Linked DNA regions of Homo sapiens: region 2 is linked to region 1. Evidence: promoter capture Hi-C in 16 types of primary human blood cells and fetal thymus (Javierre and others, 2016). All regions are on one chromosome and are shown on one strand. The core of a region is centred on a gene start or on the middle of the fragment in contact, and the rest is flanking DNA. Distances in the headings are between cores, read along the strand shown. Region 1 holds the start of MTERF2 (mitochondrial transcription termination factor 2). Region 2 overlaps POLR3B (RNA polymerase III subunit B).

What was found. Contacts are between HindIII fragments. The CHiCAGO score rates a contact against its expected background, and 5 or more counts as called.
Region 2: a fragment that was not itself captured here is called in contact with the fragment with the promoter of MTERF2 in region 1 in 1 of 17 cell types (naive CD8 T cells); the score reaches 5.4 in naive CD8 T cells.

What each region holds. Positions count from the first base shown.
Region 1 is chr12:106,985,683-106,988,643 of GRCh38, reverse strand. It overlaps MTERF2 (mitochondrial transcription termination factor 2), which reads left to right and starts at 1,498. Exons shown (of 3, transcript NM_001033050.3): 1 at 1,498-1,675. The HindIII fragment of the contact is 15,581 bases long and covers 14-2,961 here.
Region 2 is chr12:106,390,825-106,393,992 of GRCh38, reverse strand. POLR3B (RNA polymerase III subunit B) reads right to left here. Exons shown (of 28, transcript NM_018082.6): 10 at 840-962. Among named protein-coding and RNA genes, the nearest start is that of POLR3B, 35 kb to the right of the region's middle. The HindIII fragment of the contact is 6,020 bases long and covers 1-3,168 here.

The DNA.
Region 1 (2,961 bases), core at 249-2,748:
CCTAATACAAGCTTCCAGCACCCTGGTGCACATTTCTGCTCCCTCCCTCCTGACCAGTGATGGCAGCTTGCAGTTCTAAGTCCTGAGTTTACATTCCTTAACTTCCTTTTCTGTATCCTAATTTCCTTTTCCTAAGTGCAAATGACACACTTTGGTTAGTCTGGACCCCAAATCATTTTATTTCAGGAAAAAGTGTGCAATAAATCTATGCATAATAGAGTTTTTATATTCGGATAACTCAGGAGTTGCTGGACAAACACCCCCCAGCTGTACACATGAGTTGCTCAGATCATTCTAGAATATCCTAGAGATCAGAGGTGGGTGATCTTGAGGAGCCAGGATTCTTGCTGCTACTCAGTGGAGTTAAATGCACGTGTGAGCTCCTCTCAATATAGCCTGTTGAGCCTAAACTGCATAGTGAGACTAGACTCAAAGATTTAGTTAACATTTCCTGAGTTCCTACTGTGTGCCCAGCATTGTTGACAGAAAAAATAATCAGTAGCCTCAAGGAATTCACTCCACAGGGTGCGAGGGCAGTCTGTATGCCAGTGCCACCGACGGCAGAACTGTGCACAGTGTGCTACGAACACCTGACAGCAGACACCTCCAGCTGGGAAAACCAGTTTTCCTGACTCCAACTCCACACAAACAGAATCACCAGGCCCAGCTCAGGGCACCCTGTCCTCGATAACACTTAACTAGGTGTGATTAGTCACGTTATTAGTTGTTGATATCTCTGCCCTCCACTAGAATGTAAGCTCCATAAGGACAGGGAATGTGTTTTATTCCCCCTCTATTTTCTCATTGCTGTTTCAATATGCTTGGCACTTAGCAGGCCTGCCATAAATACTTGTTTTTTGGATGGATAAATGTGAAAATAAATGAGAGAGACATTCAGCCTGGCTTTAAGGAGAAATTAACGTGTTTAGTGTATGAGGTTGGGCATCACCGGTAATAATTAGAATGGAAACCACTTGGCAGTTTATCAGAAAAGGGGAGTATTTAGGTGAAGGTGGCAAGGAGGGAGAGAAAGGAGAATGGCTTTTAAAGACAGTCGCTAACTGCTGGGGTAGGGTGGGGGCGGGGAAGAGTTCAGATGTGTTTCAAAGAACTTTGGGGGTTTTTTAAACATTTCTTTTGTAAGTTGGTTCTTTACCTAACTGAATTATTTTGGGAACAGTGATTGGCTCTATCTTAAAGATATAGCGGTTTCTGTTACTTCTTTTTTTTCTTATATTTTCTAAGCGTCAAAGCTACTGGAACTCCGCTTCCTAAAATGCTGGGAAGGAAAGGGTGTGAAAATGCCAGATGCCCCCGCCAGCACAGGCTGGGCTGCCTGGAAAGCCGATTCCCACTCCGACTCGCCCTCGTGGTGCGGGGAGGGACGCGTAGTTGTGTCCCGCGCTCTGACTGGCTGCGTTGGGACGCGGGGGCGTGTCTTGGGGGGGCGGGGGTTGGCGGTCATCTCCCGAGCCCTGATTGGCCATGGGCGAAGGGACTGATGGCCTGGTTGGCGCTGCTGAGAACTGTCGGGAGCTTCTTGAGACCGAGGACCGAAATCCCGGCTCCAGGCCTCGGGGACTGCGGACTGTGGGGAGGCTGGCCGGAGAGAGAGGGAAGGACGGGGCCTGGCCCCCGGGACTCCCTGTGCCTTGCTTGGAGCTGACGCCGACGGGTGAGTCGCCCCCTTCCTCTGCTCCTGGGCGTGTTCCTCACCAGCGGCGCCGCAGCGGTCAGGGCCCGCAAAACCCCACGCCTCGCCAGACGCTCAGCTCAGCCTGCCGGGTTTCTCTGGAAAAGCGGAGGCCCCACAGTGAATGTGCGGCCTTTTGATCGGTCCTGGAGATCTTCCGTGGACCCTCGTTTTTCCTTGCTTATAAACGTTGGTCAATTTGAAACTGGCAGCAGGGCATATGTGTTACGAAAGAAGAACTTTATTGAAACCAGTGGTGGTGTAGAGAAGACCATACTAACCATAACTGTGTATTACAGAAGTGAATTTCACTCCCCAAAAATGCTTAAGAAACAAGCATCCTAGAACAGCCCACATTGTGATTTAACAAACATTTACCAAAAGCATTGCTATATGTGGGGGCACAGGGCTAAGAGCAGGCAGGACTCTGGAGCCAACCTGTGGGGTTTGAGTCCAAATTCTGCCGGTTTTTTGTTTTTTGTTTTTTTTTTTAGCTGAGTAACCTTGGGCAAGTTCCTTTACCTGCGTCTGTTTCCTCATTTTAAAATGAGTTGTTGTGATGATTTAATGATTTAGTATATGTGAAGAGTTTTCTGCATATTCTAAGTGATTTATGGTATTAACTCGTTTGATCTTTGCAGTCACCCAGGAGATAGTATCACCATTTTCCTGATGCCAAACTGAGGCTCAGAGAGGTGAAGTAACTTCTTCAAGTCACAACACAACTGTTGTCCAGGAATCAGGCAGTCTGGCTCTGCTAACCCAGTTTTACCCACTGCATTAATGTACCGCATCCACTTGTTCACTCAGTTTCACCTGACAAATACTAATTTTGTCTCTCTGTGGAACAAGTTCTTTGCTGGGTGCAGGGAATAAAGCAGAACACCGTTCAGTTCCTGCCTTCCCAACGCTTGTAAATCTAGTGCAGGTCATTCATGGCCGGGCTGCAGGGTGTCCATGAATCCTGCTAAAATCATTTGCGAAATGTTGTGAGCGTGGGTCTTTTCTTCTGGAAAGAGAGTCTGTGACTCTCAGGTTCTGAGTTGATCTGTGATCCAAACAGAGGTGTGAAGAAGTGTTGTTTTAGCAGATCTGTGCCTAGTATGCCTGATACACAGCTTGAACTTCAAACAAACAGCAACAAAATTCCTACTGGTTGGAAGAATGAAGAACTTGTAAGAGCATAATAAGTGCTGCAGTAGCGTCCGGAGCAGGGTGCTGTGGAAGAGCACACAGAAGGCCACCTGCCCAGGAATGCCTCCTAGAGG
Region 2 (3,168 bases), core at 416-2,915, 590 kb after region 1:
TGGATAGGTAAGAACTGTCTGTTGTGATTCTATAGTGGGGAATTCCCACCTCCCAGGATGGCTATGAGGGATGTTAACTTTGATTTATACTTAGGAAAGCACTTGCAAATATGGGACTAAAATCCTAAGTATGGCTGCTGGGGCTCCCTCCATGTGGGAAGGGAAGTGCAATTATTTTTACTATGGGGTGTGTGTGTGTGTGTGTGTGTGTGTGTGTGTGTGTGTATTTCTCAGTCTTCATCTTTGAGTCTTGCCCTAAAATTCCCAGGGTCCAACCAGGAGTGCCTGAGCAGGTCAATGAAGGCTCTGCAGCAGTAAAAGGGACTGATCCTGGGTTTTCCTTGCTGTCCAAAGCAGCACTGGGAATTCAGGAAAAGAAATAGAAACCACATACAACTGGATGCCTAAAGCAACTGAAGTAGGGAATAAAAAAAGATATTAAAGAGAAATGCATGCACACATACACACACACACACACACACACACACACACACACACACAAAACCTGTACACGAGAGTTGCCATAGTTTAAAAAGTATATTATCACTCAGGCAAATAAGGAAAAAAAAACAGTACTTCCTATTATATCAAAACAAACACCTCTTCGCCATATATCCCCTATTCTAAGTCGGGCACCATAGGCTCCTAATTTGTCTGGGCAAACTCCTTCCTCCAAACCTGACGAAAGTGAGTTAAAGAAACTTCACTCCTCCCATATCTCCCCAATACCTTTCCCAAATCTATGAGCCCAAAGCCATCACATCCGATGAGCTTTATCAATGAGCAGCATTAAGTCTCCAATTCCATTTCATAGCAAAGGACAACATGAAAAGACACACCTGCATCTGTGTGAAAATCTGAGCTTTCTGGCACTCTTCCAGACTGGGCCCAAATGCAGCCATCACGTGCTCCTCTGTTCCAATCATCTGCACAATTTCCTGGTCACTCTCAACACCCATGGCCTAGGAAGGAAAGAAAAGATAGAAAGAGTGTTGGCTTTGTGTTAACTCACTGACATTTGCTTATGCTAATTTGGCATTGTTTGTGGGTATTACTTCTAAGCAAAAGCTAGCTCTTCTCTCAGAAATGGTGCCATCTGGCATTGGCAGCCTTGCCCAAGCTGCAGAAAAACCTGAAACAGATATTTTGATTAGAAAGTGGAAAACAAACATTCTCAAACATTTTTTGCATGTGTACTATCTGCTAAAATTTTTAAATATTCTAAGAGTTTCATCACGAAAAAAGGAGGCTGGGAGGTATGGTAAAGACAACTGGTCATGACTACAAAGGCAAACTGTAAAGACAAACAGCCAAAAGGCAGTGAATCAGAAAAGATGCATTGCTGAAAATAAGCAGAACCCCAATCAGTCTTGTCACAAAATTAATTTTTCTGAGAACTGTCAAATCACTCATATTTTTCCTAAAAAGGAAAAGAATTTTTCCTAAAACACGTTTTACCTCACTATTCTAAAGATATCAAACCAAACTTCATGCAGGTTTCAAAGGAGACTTAAAAAGTAGGAACACATGGGCCAGGCATGGTGGTTCACACCTGTAATCCTAGCACTTTGGGAGGCCGAGGCAGGTGGATCACCTGAGGTTGGGAGTTCAAGACCAGCTGGGCCAACGTGGCGAAACCTCATCTCTACTAAAAATACAAAAATTAGCCAGATGTGTTGGCATGTGCCTGTAATCCCAGCTACTCGGGAGGCTGAGGCAGGAGAATCGCTTGAACCCGGGCGGTGGAGGTTGCAGTGAGCTGAAATTGTGCCATTGCACTCCAGCCTGGGCAACGAGAGCAAAACTCCGTCTCGGGAAAAAAAATAAGAAAATAAAAAAAGTAGGAATACACTTAAGAGGTTTCAGAAACCCACTTAAGTGTTTCAAGGTGGCAGCAGCAACGCAAGTCTTTGTAGATTCCATATGGTACTAGGGCTCACTCCTTCACACATTTGCCTGGAATTTTGCCATATCAAGGAACACAGCATAATCTCACTAAATCTCTCCTGGAAGAGTAATAGTCAGCTTCTTAGAAGTGAGGGGAAAAGTTATGTTTGCATTAAAATTCTTCCTTCAGCTGTAGAGAAGACAGAACCAGAGGATAATTGTGTAGTTAGTGTTGATGCCCTAGTTCCCAGTTCTCCACACAAAAAAGAAAGGAAGGGAAAATCAAATCCCAAGTTCCAATGCAGAAAATCAAGGACATTATCCTCAGTACAACAGGGGCATCTATCTAAAAGTCCAGAGATCTGAGGTGTTTGTGCTAATATAATACCAACAACACACACAGACATTACAACTACTACTGTCATGCAACCTCTTCGCCTTTGTTTTCTCATTTGCATAAATGAAAAACCAGATCCCTTCCAGCTCAAAATGCTATGATTCTACATTTGACCTTCAGTGGTCTGCATTCTAAAAATTTGATTTGGATACTTTAGGATCCGATGTAAACTTATAGAAAGTTTTGAAGATTTGGGGGAAATCTGAATAGATCCCATGTCCCTTTTAGGCCAACATTGGTGGTTTTAAAAACCTTCATAGATTCTTTGATACTCCCTTCAAAAGGTGGAGACTAATTCCCCACCCCAAGTGCAGGCTAAGCTCAATGCCTCACCTCTATAGAAAAAAATGTGAAGGTGGCACGTATGATGACTTTGAAGGACTGGTCATAAAAGGCACTATAGCTGCCTGCTTGCTCTGTCTGAAAGTGCTCTCTCTGGGGGAAGATAGCTACCATGTCATGGAAACACACAAGCAGTCTGTGGCAAGGTCCGGTGGTGAGAAACTATGTCCTCTTACCAACAGCCAATGAGCACCTGCAGTTTTCTGTCAACTGCCATGGGGGTGAGTTATCCTGGAAGTAGATTCTCCAGGCTGCTTCAGTTCAGCCTTCAGATAACTGCAGCCCTGGCTGATTATCTTTTCTTTTGTTCTCTTTGGTGAAGCGGTCTTGCTTATGTTGCCCTGGCTGAAGGCAGTGGGTATTCACAGGTGCAATCATAGTGCTCTACAGCCTCAGGCTCCTGGGCTTAAGTGAACCTCCCACCTCAGCCTCCTGAGTAACTGGGACTACAGGCACATGCTACTATGCTCAGCTTGTGGCTGACATCCTGGCACATGAAAGACTCTGAGCCAGAACCACCCAGCTAAGCAAGTCTTAAATTC